4 separate regions of the Homo sapiens genome follow, and regions 2, 3 and 4 are each linked to region 1. The links are contacts of gene promoters, found by promoter capture Hi-C in blood cells and fetal thymus (Javierre and others, 2016). All regions are on one chromosome and are shown on one strand. Each heading gives the region's core, a stretch centred on a gene start or on the middle of the fragment in contact. The rest is flanking DNA. Distances are from core to core; before and after follow the strand shown. Region 1 holds the start of CCDC39 (coiled-coil domain 39 molecular ruler complex subunit). Region 2 overlaps USP13 (ubiquitin specific peptidase 13). Region 3 overlaps PEX5L (peroxisomal biogenesis factor 5 like). Region 4 overlaps PEX5L (peroxisomal biogenesis factor 5 like).

Evidence for each region. The method cuts DNA at HindIII sites, captures the fragments that hold promoters and counts their contacts. A CHiCAGO score of 5 or more calls a contact.
Region 2: a contact is called between a fragment that was not itself captured here and the fragment with the promoter of CCDC39 in region 1, in 2 of 17 cell types (M2 macrophages and M1 macrophages). The highest score is 5.8, in M2 macrophages.
Region 3: a fragment that was not itself captured here is called in contact with the fragment with the promoter of CCDC39 in region 1 in 1 of 17 cell types (endothelial precursors); the score reaches 5.3 in endothelial precursors.
Region 4: a contact is called between a fragment that was not itself captured here and the fragment with the promoter of CCDC39 in region 1, in 1 of 17 cell types (endothelial precursors). The highest score is 5.2, in endothelial precursors.

The regions. Positions count from the first base shown.
Region 1 is chr3:180,677,659-180,681,168 of GRCh38, reverse strand. It overlaps CCDC39 (coiled-coil domain 39 molecular ruler complex subunit), which reads left to right and starts at 1,680. Exons shown (of 20, transcript NM_181426.2): 1 at 1,680-1,878. The coding sequence starts at 1,789. It overlaps CCDC39-AS1 (CCDC39 antisense RNA 1), which reads right to left and starts at 1,088. Exons shown (of 2, transcript NR_046725.1): 1 at 979-1,088. RefSeq lists enhancers at 1,179-1,228, 1,309-1,408. The HindIII fragment of the contact is 3,343 bases long and covers 1-2,602 here.
Region 2 is chr3:179,770,224-179,773,733 of GRCh38, reverse strand. All of the region lies in intron 19 of USP13 (ubiquitin specific peptidase 13), which reads right to left. Among named protein-coding and RNA genes, the nearest start is that of USP13, 120 kb to the right of the region's middle. The HindIII fragment of the contact is 4,298 bases long and covers 1-3,510 here.
Region 3 is chr3:179,799,791-179,803,300 of GRCh38, reverse strand. It overlaps PEX5L (peroxisomal biogenesis factor 5 like), which reads left to right. Exons shown (of 15, transcript NM_016559.3): 15 at 1,269-3,510. The coding sequence ends at 1,473. Among named protein-coding and RNA genes, the nearest start is that of PEX5L-AS2, 97 kb to the left of the region's middle. The HindIII fragment of the contact is 2,808 bases long and covers 288-3,095 here.
Region 4 is chr3:179,926,503-179,930,012 of GRCh38, reverse strand. The region is part of intron 2 of PEX5L (peroxisomal biogenesis factor 5 like); the gene reads left to right. Among named protein-coding and RNA genes, the nearest start is that of PEX5L-AS2, 30 kb to the right of the region's middle. The HindIII fragment of the contact is 476 bases long and covers 1,533-2,008 here.

The DNA of each region.
Region 1 (3,510 bases), core at 431-2,930:
TCTTAACATAAGCTGAATACTAACATTTTCATTAGTTGGAATGACTAAACTATTATAAAATAAGTAATGATCATTTATAAAGGATTAAATGTCATTATATCTAAAATTCCACTATTACATGCAGGTCAAATTTCTTCTACAAGTTGAGCCTTTCTCCCCAGCCTTTAATCATTGTAGAAAGGGGGAATAAAATGCTTTGCTAATTCTAGTCTTTAAAGGCACTAAGTCCACAAGATTAAGTTTATGGAAAACAATGTAGGCACAAAGAGACAAAGCTCCTACAGGAGGATTTCAGAACTATAGTGACAAACAAATCGACTGTAAAAAGACATTTTTAGGACAGTCGAAATATGAATCTGAAATGGTTATTAGATGATATTGAAGAATAGTTGATTTTTATAGGTGTGATAATGATATTGTGCTTATGTTAGATAACATTAACCACTCTTCTACCAATACATGCTCATGTATTTAGGGCTGTAATGTCATGATGTCTATGATTATTTTTTCACTTGAGCAAAAGATACAGATGATGCTAACATGGCAAAATATGAATGCTAAATCAAGGTGATGCATATATAGCAGTTATTTATACTCTGCTTTCTATTCCCATATACATTTAAAATATTTATAATAAAAGTTTAACAATGTCTAGGTAAAATAAAATTCGAAAGAGCAAAAAAAATTACAGATGATTATTGGATACGTAAAATTAATTCATGCACAGCATCCCTTCTTTAATCACTTTGCCTCAAGGAGCCTCGGTTTAACTTACCGAGAAAATGAAAGGATTAGATTAGTTGATTGTTTTGTCCTTTCCAGTTCTGAGATACTATACAAGAGAGACTATAACTCAAATGCCTACCCGTGCCAAGCAGGTAATTCAAATTAGTGAACTGGTAAAGTGCTTTGTTGGTCTAAAGGGGGCGCCTCTCCAGCGGAACATTGCCTTTTGATAATGGGGATTGTGTCACCTACCCTTTTTCAAGCAGAGGAAATACAGACGTTTATGCGAAATTCCACACTTTAAATGTTAGCAAACAAAAATGCAAAGAAAAATGCAAGTATGGGAGTGGTGCCGGAGGGACCACCACACCGCGCCACAAGTGTGCGGCCTCCGCGCGGTCCGCGTCTGTGATCGACTGGGACATCCGCGATGGGGCCGGTGAGTGCGGTGAGGAAGGCTGGCCGACTGAAACAGGCGACGATCAGAACATCCCAGTGATGCCAGAGAGAGAGTTGTTTCCAAACACCAGTTCACTTCGGTCTACTTTCACCTACTGTAGTAGCTGAAATCTACACAACACAGCAAACACACCTTGAAAAGAAACTTAGTTTATAATCCCTGTTGGCTCCCGTCTTCCCCCAGGCAATCGGAGGATCGTGTGGTTTACTTCCAGCCAGCTGCCCCGTGGTCCTCCAGCCAGCTCCGGGGGCCACAGTTTTCACACGCTCCGGGAGCGATCCGAGAGCCGCCTTTTCGTGGAAAGTTACGCTGCCGCCTGGCAACCCCCGGGAACGTCGGGAGGGGCAAGTTGCTGCTCATCCCTCAGTGCTCAAGGTAAGAAAAAGATTCTTCGGCCTGCAGGCAGGGAGTTCTCAACCGGAAGTTTCGCCTTCGGGCTGGAGCGTTTCCTGTTTGGTAACTAAGGACGCGGGAAGGTTGCTAGGGCTCCCCCGGCAATTGCCGCGGCACTGTGCAGGTGCCTGGGCTTGACGCGGGTGCTGCTCACCCGCTGTACAAGAAGGCGGATCTTTGCTCTGTATCTTCTCTATCCGTTTGCAGTCATGAGTAGCGAATTCCTGGCTGAGCTGCACTGGGAGGATGGGTTCGCCATCCCGGTGGCGAACGAGGAGAACAAGCTACTGGAAGATCAGGTGAGATCAATTGAAGCAGGCGGGAGGAAGCAGAGAGAGCCTGTTGGGGGCGTTTTCTGGTTGGCAGTACTACCCCAGCCCTTTTATTTCTCTCCTTTCCTAATCCTGTGCTTCCTCTAACACTCCCCCGCACCATCGCCCTCCTCCCTTACCCTCTCTGCCTATTTCAGTAATTGTTAAGCATTTAAAAATGCTATTAAAACCATAATTGACATTTAGGGTTATAAAGCTCGAATTATTACTCCCTTCCTCATGCCCACTCCTCTTACTTATTTCGTTCCTCCTGGCGAGAGAGGAAAGGCTGGTTCCGGCGCCCGCTTTTTCCTTGCTCAAAAATTAAAGAGCTACTTGGAAAAGAATTTCTGAGGTTTGCATAGCAACGGTTATTTGCGCACGTTTATAAATTAAACTCCAGAAGGTTCATATTTCTTTGTGAGTTTTTGTCTGTAATGTTTAAAGCTGAAAGTGACTTGAGATGTTTTCAAGAGGAACAGCCCGGTAAGAATGAAATGTGCGGTTTACAGTTTTTCAAAGAGAAGATTGAGTTGTCACAGATTAACATAAGAAATTTTACGTTGCAAGGACGAACTTACACTAACTACAATTCATAGCAGTTGTTAAAAAAAAAAAAATTGCAGGCCGGGCGCAGTGGCTCACACCTGTAATCCCAGCACTTTGGGAGGCTGAGGCGGAGGAACCCTAAAAGCCAGGAGTAAAACAAGCTTGAACAACAAAGCGAGACCCCCCACAAACCCCTCCCACCGCGTCTCTACGAAAAAATAAAAAAATAAAAAATTGCAACCGGGTCAGCAAATTTTGAAAAACTTTGGTGGTGATATGTTGTGTAGAAGAAGGTCCAAGAATAACAGATGATGCTTACACAACTTTGTAAAACGGAACAGAAAGTTTTCTCAGCTCTAAAAAAGGAAAATGAAAATCCTGTTACTCTACCTTTTGAAAACAATGGAAATGCTTTTTAACACGTTCTGACCTATTTACTCATGTGTAATTTAGAAGACTGCAATTTTTCCCCAAAGGAGGGCAATATTAGGAAATGTAAGGGATCTAGCACTGAGTACCGAGGAATTAATACTAAGTATCCAGCCCTGGGTTCAGATCCTACTTACCAACCCTAATCCTGCTTCTTTTTTTGTAAAGCGGAGATGGAGATGAACAAACTAATTACTTCGCGGGCTCTAGGGACATAATATGGGTTAAGGTTCCATCCAAATTTTAGGTTTTAGTATTCTTGCCATAATATGTGTCACACAGGATTTTTATGTACATATTAAGTATATTAGCTCTTTTAAAAAAGTATAGAGCCATATAAAGAAGAAAAATGAGCACCACAATTGCATTAAATTAAATTGCTTTTTAAACTCTGACATTTAAAAAGCAACTCCTGTAAATTTAAGATATTCAAACAGAATAGAAGGGTATGAGATAAAAACATAAGGTATTTCCTCTCCAAAGTGTCCACTGTACTGTAGAAATGATTACCATGGCATTAAACACACATTTCAGACATCTTGGTATACAGATATACAGAAAGAAGAGAAAAATGAGTATTATAATGGAATTATATATATGCGGTATTTAACACAAAATATTTATTTTAGTATTTGAGAGAAG
Region 2 (3,510 bases), core at 546-3,045, 910 kb after region 1:
TCATCCTAACATTTCTTTTTGAAATTGTCTTTAAATATCCTAGTTCCACAAATGTTTTTAAACCAGTAGTAACATCTGACTGATTCTCTCATTAATTAATGAGTTTTTTAAAATCTGTGATATGTGTTCATTTTACATTTACCTGAAAGTCATGATCTTGCCTTTTGGAAAATTATGCTTTAACAAGTGTAATGACCAAAAGCAACTCTGGATTCAGAAGTGTCTTTAAATGAATTTAATTTTATAAGCCATTATAGCATCTAAAATATTTACAAAGCAGCAGTATCTCATCAGGGCATGACGCATTATTTAGTTAGTCTACAGAGAGTGCTCAGAACACAGAGACATCAAAACACTCCCTAAAATAACTACCAAGACCCCAGAGGCACAGCAGTCCTCTGGTGAGAAAAACTGGGTTCTCATCCAATGCTCTTTACTTGATTAATTTGTGTCATTGCCTATCTCTAACTCCCTCTGTACAAAGCGGGGGAAATAAAATTGCCAACTTACTAACATTTGCCTCATAAGCACCCAATATCTGGGTATTTATCTGGGATATGCTTTTCCCCCACAAGGTATTCATGAGGGATCCACTCCCATGACCCAAACACCTCCCACCAGGTCCCACCTCCAACACTGCAGTTTGCATATCAACATGAGATTTGGAGGGGACAAACATCCAAAGTATATCAGGCGCAATATACAACAAGTTCAATCTCTCCAACAGCTTGATTTCCCCTCATGCCCTCTCTGAGAAAAAACAGTGTGGGAGGGAGGAGTATTTGGAGCTTTCAGAAATTTCTGAATTCTCAAAAAGAGAAGACAGACCTAGGTAAATCAATAACATCGGAAGGCAGCTGATAGCAACAGAATTGTAAAGGGTCTACGAATTGCTTCCCCCAACCCTAGCCAGCTCCAAATTACCAGTCTCTCGGTTACAATGCCGAATGCTCCGAAAGGCAAACACTTCCTTCCAAGTCTAATAGTTCTCCATCATTTATCCTTCAGTGTAAATCAGTTTACTCAAGAGTGGCTGCCTCTTAACTTTCAACAGCACCGCTGAAAAAATTAGGAACTGCAACAAGTGCTAAGTGGGAGGAGAATTAGCACCAGTGGCATGAAGTGTCTATGTGACTTTCCAGTCGACCACTGGGGCTTAGCTTCCCTGGGGAGCTGTACCTTTTGCCCCCTAGATCCTCTTCTGGGTGGCATTCCTCAGGGAGCTCAGCACCTCAGGAACCCCAGCGTTATGCAAATGAACGCCTCTCTGCTCCCTGCCTGGAAAATCTCAGCAGCATCGGAGACATCTAAACCATTACACCAAAGTGGCTGAAGGAGCCAGAGCAGGCTCTGAGTAATCACAGCCTAATCACATGTTAATTTCATTGGCAATCAGTGAGTTCTTTTCTTAAGAAAAATTAAATGCTCATTAAGTGAAACATGAAAACAGAAATGATTTTGCACATAGCAGAAGCCCCGATAGGTCAGAGTGACGGCCTGATTTCTAGCTTTAAAGTTTTAAAAAACTCAACAGAAAGTTAGGTGCTAGCCCTAAAATGTGCAGAACATGGTAGAAAATAGACTCTCGTCTCCATTCCAATACAAAATGTGAAATAAGATGACTCAATCGGGGATAAAGGAAAAACTGCACAGCCTTCAAAATCAAACAGGCCTGAATTCTAACCTGGTTCTACCACTAGCAAACCACTTAGCTTTGTCACCACTTCCTCATCAGAATACCTCCCTATAAGCAGTGAAGGAAAAGTGGTCAAGGAAGTGCCTGGCACAGAGGAGGCATTCAGGAAATGACAGCCACTATTTCATCAAGTGTTAATAGCACTAACCTTTTTAAACAAATTAGACGCCATTTAGATAATCGTTTCATGCAGTAGCATTACTTCCACATTCAGAAAAATGGAAACAGTGATTTTTAATTAACATATTCCTAAAAGGAAAAATTTGATACCTGTACTTCTTTAATCCCTACCCTTGTAATAATAGCTTTTTTCCACTTCATAACACCTACCTTATTATTTCAGTGTTAACCTGGTGTGACAAAGTCCCAGTAGCCACGACCCTCCTTCTTAAAGCAACAGTAACCTAACACTGCTTTTAAGGTGGTAATTCTCAAGTTTAAGCTGCATCAGAATCACCTGGATGTCCTGTTAAAACACAGATTACTGGGCCTCACCCAGAGTTCCTAATTCAGCAGGTCTGAAGTGGGGCAACATCAGTCCTAACAAGTTCTCAGGTGATTCTATTAGTCCGAACCACACTTGAACCAGTGCTTGAAGGAGATCAACCTGTCCCTTCTCAGCTCAGGTGAGAGGATGGAAGATGTCTCCACCCTCAGGTTCTAGGAGTGAGGCCCATAATGCAGGCCTGAATCAACCTGCCTCAGTGACTTGGAGTAGGACAGGGCACATAACGGAGTCTCACAGAGTCTCAGGCTCTCAGGACCTTTGCTGAGAACTCTGGGACAAGACTTAGCTAGATTTTAACCTGGAAAGATATAGTTGTGGGAGGCGCTGCAGCCATCTTGTGCCATTAGGGAGAGCCTGTCTGGGACTGGAACCAACCTAGAGGAAGCAGAGCCAAGGGGCCCATCCAGCTAAAAGGATTTGAGTCCTGAATCACGGCAGGCCTGCAGCCCAGTGCCCCCAGGACTTGCCAGCTTTCATGAGAAAATATTTCCCTTTTTGCTTAGACAGATTTGTCTTGGACTTCTTGCCACTTAAAACCCTGAAAACTGAAGTTGTTTTTATTTTGTTTGTTTTGGTTCCTCAAACACCAATTACCCCTACTCTTTAATTGTATTCAATATTCTCAGCTGGGTGCAGTGGCTCACACCTGTAATCCCAGCACTTTGGGAGGCCAAGGCAGGCAGATCACAAGGTCGGGAAATGGAGACCATCCTGGCCAACATGGTGAAACCCCATCTGTACTAAAAACAGTATAAAAATTAGCTGGGTGTGGTGGCGCGTGCCTGTAATCCTAGCTACTCCAGAGGCTGAGGCAGGAGAATAGCTTGAACCAGGGAGTTGGAGGTTGCAGTTTGCTGAGATGGCGCCACTGCACTCCAGCCTGGCGACAGAGCGAGACTCCATCTCAAAAAAAAAAAAAATTCTCAAGTCATATACCTCAGTCAATTCACCAACCAGAAAAAGTAAAAAGAAATGACTTGGGAATTTAAACAACCTAGCTAAACAGAACACACATCTTCCCAGGTTAACCTATAAATTTAATGTAATGCCAGTCAAACCCCTAGAGAATGGCCAATTACAAAATCGGTACCTTTATATAATTTAGCAGCAATGTTTAATATACAATGGGGAAAATTTGTATTCATAAGTAACAGTGAAAATGTAATTTCGAGATATAACTAAACTAGAAATGCCTAGCATATTTATGAAGAAAACCATACAGCTTTGCAAGAGTTAGAAAAGGGGCGAATAAATCAAAGGAGAAGCATATGTTTCTGGCTAGAAAAACTCAATATTGTAAAGTGAT
Region 3 (3,510 bases), core at 442-2,941, 880 kb after region 1:
CTACATGTTATCATAAATAATATTTTTTACAAAAAATATTTTCCAAAACACAAACAGTCTAGTGGGAAAAGTGACATTGTTTCACATTTTTGCAAGTTTGTTTCATATCTTGCTTACTAGAAGACACACTCTCACACCTGCTTCTGCAGTCAGTCTGTTGCGATATCATGCACCATGTAGTCTCTGGAAAATTCCACTGTAAGCATGTGAGAAAATGAAAGCAAAAAAATCAAATAACATATTAGCTTTATCATAAAAATAATTTTGACCTCATTGATTCCCAAGCTTCTCCAGACCACACTTTGAGGACTATTGATCTTACTCAGTGATAAGAGCTTTCATGTAGATTGATTCAACTGCACCTCACAAAGTTTTTAAATGCCTTTGATTATCCCTATTACACACTCAGGGAAAGTAATCCTTGGAAAAAAAAAAAACAAGAAATTTGCCTACTGCTAAATAACTGGGATTCAAGACAGGTGCCCAGTAATAAACTCAATCTACTCTAGCTGTGTTCCATACATCTAGCACTAATGGGAAAAATTAGACCACTTTGTTTTTAAGTAGGGCTATATTCTTCCTCTTAAACCTAGTTATAGAAATCAAATCTGCAAATGCATTAAGTGTTCAAATCATTCCTAGAGCAGAGGAAAATCGAATGCATTAATGAATTTGCATGGTTTTGCTATTATTCTTTCTCTCCCACGTGACATTCCTAAAATAAAATTTTCTTTTCTTTTCTTTTCTTTTTTTTTTTTTTTTTTTTTTGAGACAGTCTCACTCTGTTGCCCAGGCTGGAGGGCAGTGGTGTGATCTCGGCTCACTGCAACCTCTGTCTCCTGGGTTCAAGCCATTCTCCTGCCTCAGCCTCCCTAGTAGCTGGGATTACAGGGGCATGCCACTACACCTGGCTATTTTTTGTATTTTTAGTAGAGACAGGGTTTCACCATGTTGGCCAGGCTGATCTTGAACTCCTGACCTCAAGTGATCCACCTGCCTTGGCCTCCCAAAGTGCTGGGATTACAGGCTTGAGCCACCATGTCCAGCCTGCTTTTCTTTTTTCTTTCTGACCTCACTGTATTTAACAATGATTGCTCACTAAAGAATATAAGAGAATTAGAAAGTTGTTCATTTGATCATCCAGAACACGTAAGAGGTGATTTAAGATTTTAGATTAAAATCACTTAATCCAATTTTGTTTTGTTTTGTTTACATTTGCTAACTCTGAAATGTGACTCATTTTAAAATATGTTTTTCTACCTTCTTAGAGAAGCGGTCAGCAATTTTCTCACTGCCCTCAGTTTGCAAAGAAAGAGCAGGAATCAGCAGCAAGTTCCTCATCCTGCAATCTCTGGGAATATCTGGGCTGCCCTCAGAATTGCGCTCTCTCTGATGGACCAACCAGAACTCTTCCAGGCGGCTAATCTTGGTGACCTGGATGTCCTCTTAAGAGCTTTCAACTTGGATCCTTGAAGAAAGAATAATACCAGTACTAATAATCCCTGATCTGTGTGATTGTACTGAAAAATCAAAAACTATTTTATTATGAATTTCAAAAGGATAAATCAAATATTCAAAAGGCCATGGTCATATAGCCCAAGGAAATTAATTCCTGTGGACAATGCCCAGTCTCTGTTCAGATCCAAAAGCACAAAATGTTGTATATAGAGTCAAAGTCAGGCTCAAAAGAAGAATTAAGAGACTCAAGACAAACCAAGATAAAGTAACTGTGTGTTGAATACTCTTTCCACAAGTTGCAAGCATATTGCAACACATGTTCTTTGGGTTTTTTGTCTCCCCTTGCAGCTGATGACACATCTGAGGAACTTGTTCATGGGAAACATGGAAAAAGCACTGCCTCAGATTGGGAAATTCTGACTGTTTCTGAACTGTCTTCTTTTGCAAGACTGAACATAGTTTGGGCCATTGGTGCATGCACATATATTAACTTGTGACTAAAGACAGACATTGCTTAAACCTGTTCCAATTTTAACTTTTACTGTAGCCCTTTGATTCCAGAGAGGGAGCTTTGCTGGCAAAAGCAGTTTTTGCACTAGAAATTTTTGCTGTTCCCAATCTAAACTTTTCTGGTATTGTATATATGCACTTTAATATCTTATTTATGCCTTGCTGGAGTTTTGTTTTGTTGCTCCAATTTTTAACTTGGGGGTGAAAGATTTAAGAACTCAGCCTCACTAGATCAACGGACCAAATAAACAATTCCTGAAGACAGTTTTTCATAGTGTAGGATTTTGAAGAAGTGTTTTTCTTAAAGCAGATACGATGACATAAGGCGTAAATATGGCAAACAGATCTTTTCATTCACGTGCTTTCTGGGTCTGTATGAACATAAGTAAGACACAAGGTACTGTCTCTTCATGCATTCTCTGCAGGAAGAAAGTTTGATGGTATCGTGATTTCTATTGAGTTCAAATTAACTTGCTTAAGTGTCATACTTTACTGGCTTTGCCCTGCACACCAATATTCCTTTTAAACCATAAATATTTTAAATAATATTTCTTAAGAGTGATAAATAACATTTTTTCCTAAAAATTATGTTTTCTTAGTTTCATAATAATCTGCACTGTTCATCCCCTTGCATTCTAAGTGATAGAAGAGCAACACTTTCAAACCAAATCTCACTGAATGCCAGTGATTTCATATGAAAGATGCATGCCTCTTTGGCTCTTTGAACATTTAGCAAGTATTGGGAATTTTCTATTAGCAGTGGTGTTTTAATTGGTTGAATTCCACTTAGTTCTCCACAGTGTTTTGTATGTGTTTGGGGCTTGGTGATTATTTTGAAAGATACATTTTTTAAAGAATTAGGAACATTTTTTGCAAAATGCTAATCAGAATATAATTTTCCCAATGTCAGGTATAGAAGTTATCCCATTCTTCTTTACCTGGTCTCCTTCCTTCGTCTAGAACCTTCCCCACAGTAGCTAATCCTAACAACTTTTTATTTATGTTCTTTGATAATAATAGCTCATCCCGCTCATGATTATAGCTACCCACAAAAAATAAAACAACAACAACAAAAAAGACTCCACAGAATTGGGATCAAAACAGTCTAATTGGCTGGGGAATAAGCTTCTACTGAGGAGTAAATGTGCACACGTGCTTATCAATTGAATGCGAGGTACAGGAATAAAATCCTCTCCTCTGTTACATCTGAAGTCCTTGGGTTGTGAGAGGGCCTCAAGTTAACAGAAACCACAAGTCCTTGAGGCTTACATATGTTATAACCTATTCTAGTTTATAAAGACAAAAAGCTGAGGCCACTGTGAGGAGTGCCAGGTTTTGATAGTCATTGTCAAAGTTGACTTGGGCCAGGTGGTAGCTCCAGCTGGTCAGCAGAAGGCAGAGGCATTCAGGCACTCATCATGGGTAGCAGCGACCACCCAGTCTCAGACCGTGCTTCTCTACAGTCTCAGCAGCAAAGTAAAGCTCAACAATGCTTTCAAGAATGGTATTGTAAGAATTGTAGAATTCGAGAAACCCAGTCTG
Region 4 (3,510 bases), core at 521-3,020, 750 kb after region 1:
AAACAGACTAAGAGCTCACTCAGGCTTGGCAACTCAGACATAAAAACCTTGTTTTCAAAATTGGGAGTGTGAAAGGAAGGGGAATATGTGGAAGCCCGTGGTTTTAGCCCCAGCTATGTCCCGGTCTGATAAACAACAAGAGAACCAGAAAGAGCAAGATAGGTCTACGCAGGTCACCGGGACAGATTTAAAAAACGTGGGTGGGGACAGAGTGACTGACACTGGAGATGTGATTGGTTTGGGAAAAGATGTCATGGGAGTTGAAGGTTATCCATGATCCCAGTTTTAGGGAGCAGGAAGAGGCAGGGGCAGGGGCATTAGGCAGGAACTGATCTTAACGTCCACAGGGACTCATAATCATCTCTCTGAACCAGGGGCGGTTGCCAAATGCAAACATGTGCCTGTTCTTTGTGTATACTTAAAGAGTAGTTCTATATCTAAATGCTGCTCCAAACTATAAGGTTTAATCCTATGAAATTACCAATATTTAACAGCTTCTGACTTACCAAAAAAAAAAAAAAAATGGCAACTTCACAAGATGCAACCTAATGCAATATGAACTGTAAAATAAATGTAATACAGAATATGGACTGAAAATAAATGCAAAATTCTTTATACTTAGCTCTACTCTTTTGTCAAATAAATTTTAAATGAGGAATCAACTTTTAGGTTTTCTATATTTAGATTTAAGTACTTTGAGGATTTTTCCATCACAGATTTTCCATCCTTGAAACCACTTGCACAGAACTGACTCTGATCTGCTGCCCCCTGCTGTCAGCTAGGGAAGCAACCTGATTTTTAACTGTTTGGGAGGCTAGAGCTAATCCCTTAAAAAAAAATCAGGGTTTCTAAACATGTCACTTAGGATTATCCCTTGGTTTAGGTAATCCTTGCCGGTACTTTTCTTCATTAGAAGATTATTGAGACTTGATGGAATAAGTCATTATCATGTGAGCCCTACTGGCCTGACATGTTTCCCTTTTTGGATATAACTTAACAGAGTTAGAAAAGAAGAATAGAATTACAGCTGGATTCTCAGTAACTCACACTAATGACAGGGACAGCTGTTTACAAATTTCAGTCATCAGACTAAGGAGAATGTATGGAAAGGTAATGGCATGGAGGGGCTTCAAGCCTGGATCTTGATGATTTTGCTGGAATGGGTTAGGATTTAATTGCCTTCAGCAAAAACTGGGGCTTGTGCTCCAGTAGTTTTGTTCTTTATGTGATAAAATGGAATGAGTATAAGCCAACTCTAGGTCTTTGCCCTCAATTTTTCTCTGTCACATCAAAAGGGACTGCTGGGTTTTTATAAGAATCACTGAGTTTTAGATCTAACACAGAACTGTGCTTCCGGTGGTAGGTGATGGTTGCTTGCAGGAAATGATGGAAAATGCTTAAAATTCAATCCAGAATCAGTTGGAGAGTTGAGATTGTAACTCAGATACACAACTGTTTAAATGCTGTCCACTGCCTACCCACCATTTGTTGTAAATGGTTTTTAAAGGCCCCTCGACACATTGTTTGAAGCTTAAGTGGGGAAGGAAGGGTGTGTGTCCCCGAGAGGCCCTAGCACTCTCTCAGTCCCCACCCTCAGCCATTTGTAAATGGCTCTTTGTCTCCTGGGACCTCCTCCAAAAGGGATGGGTACAGGTGTTCCCAGTTGGATCACAGGCTGAAAATGTTGAGAATGGCTATTCTGAATTATGGTTGTAATTTAATCTGGCAAATATTATTGAGCTTCTCTCTGTAATAAAGTAGGCTCTGGTGATGCAGGAGCATATAAGCCCACCCAAAGGCTCACAATCTGGCTTCCTGTAAGCGTGCAAACTGGTTTTACTCAACTATTACTGAAGTAAAGAGAATTGTTGGCAAATGTTAAACAATTATATGAAAGGAACAGGCAGATAGTCCCTGGACCCACTGATCAACCTTAACATAAATAAAAGTGGGGAAACAAGACCTGTGCATTCAAATGCATTGCCTAAATTGGGATGTGCTGGAAGCTTAACATACAGAGTGACTTGGAAAGATTTAGTCCCAGAAATATATACTTCATTAATAATATTTTATGATCACATATTGAAATGATAATTTTTGATATATTAGGTTAAATAATTACAATAGAAAAGAAAATTATTGGCTAAAACTTCCCCCATTTAAACAGCAAACTAGTGTGCTAGTGACATGAGCATTTGCTACAGTTTACACTATTTCTCATAAGATGAAAACCAAAATCTTTAACTTAGCTTGCAAGGTTACACAAACGATGGTGAAGGGCAGGTTTTGTTTGGTTTTGTTTTTTTAATGTCCAATTCCTTGCAGATTGATGATTTTATAAAGAAAATAACAATTAATTTTTCAAATAAATGAAATGGAAAAAGTCACACAAAATGCAAGCCCAATTTTATTATTAGTTTAACAAACATAAAATTACTTTGTGAAATGGCTACAAAAATTTCTACAATGTAGACTTCCAATTTTTATACTTGCCTCATCCCCAGTAAGGTAGCAAACAGTTCACAGTCCACATACCACTCTCTGAGTGACACAGGCTAGCCCCTGCCTACCTCTCCCTATCACTCTCTGCAGGCAGCCACACTGGCCTGTTTCCCTTCTTAGAACATGCCTCTCTCCTTACACTGGCAGGACTCCCAACCCCTCTGTGCCTAGTTAATCGTAACTATCTTTCAGATCTCAAGCCACAGCCTCTGTCTTTACCCTGAGAGCCTACACTTAGTCAGGGTCCCTGTCTGTGCTCCATTGTACCATGTGCCTCTCTTTATCACACGTTTCACCATTTGGAAGAACCCGAGTCCTTCACTAAGCTGTAAGCTTACAGTGATGGCATCAGTCTTGTTCACCAGCGATCCCAAATGCCTAGGACATACTACATGCTCAGTAAATACTTGTTTAATTAATAGATAATTAAAAATAATTTGAGCTCACAAAATTCAAACTTTCATTTTTTAACTGAGAAAACTAACTTCCAGAGAGTTTAAACAATTTGCTTAAAAATTCCAAGGACATATATATTCAAAACTGAGACCCGGATCTGCCTAAGTCCACACCATTACTTTTTTCCTAAACACACTAAAATGGGGCATTACCCAGAAATCATAAAAATTGTTTTGGATGGTGACCATTTCTATGAGTTGAAGCCATTTCCAAAATTACCCAGAAAGTTTACACGGTTAAACAATATTTTATTTTGTATCTACTCATTCATTTCACAGATATTTGTTGAACACCTACCATGTGACAGGCATTACTCTAAATGTTGTGAATGTGGCAGTTGTGGAGAAAGCCCAGGGTTTCCTGAACAGCCTCATTCTAGTTGGAGAGACAACAGCAAACATAGAAAAATACCCATAATTGGCAATAAGTCCTTTGCACAGAATTAGCACGAGATAAAGGGATGGAGGGACTTTGAACAGAATTAGCACAAGATAAAGCAAAGGAGGGCCTATTTTGGATGATGTAATCAGGAGGCCCATCTGAGGAGGTGAT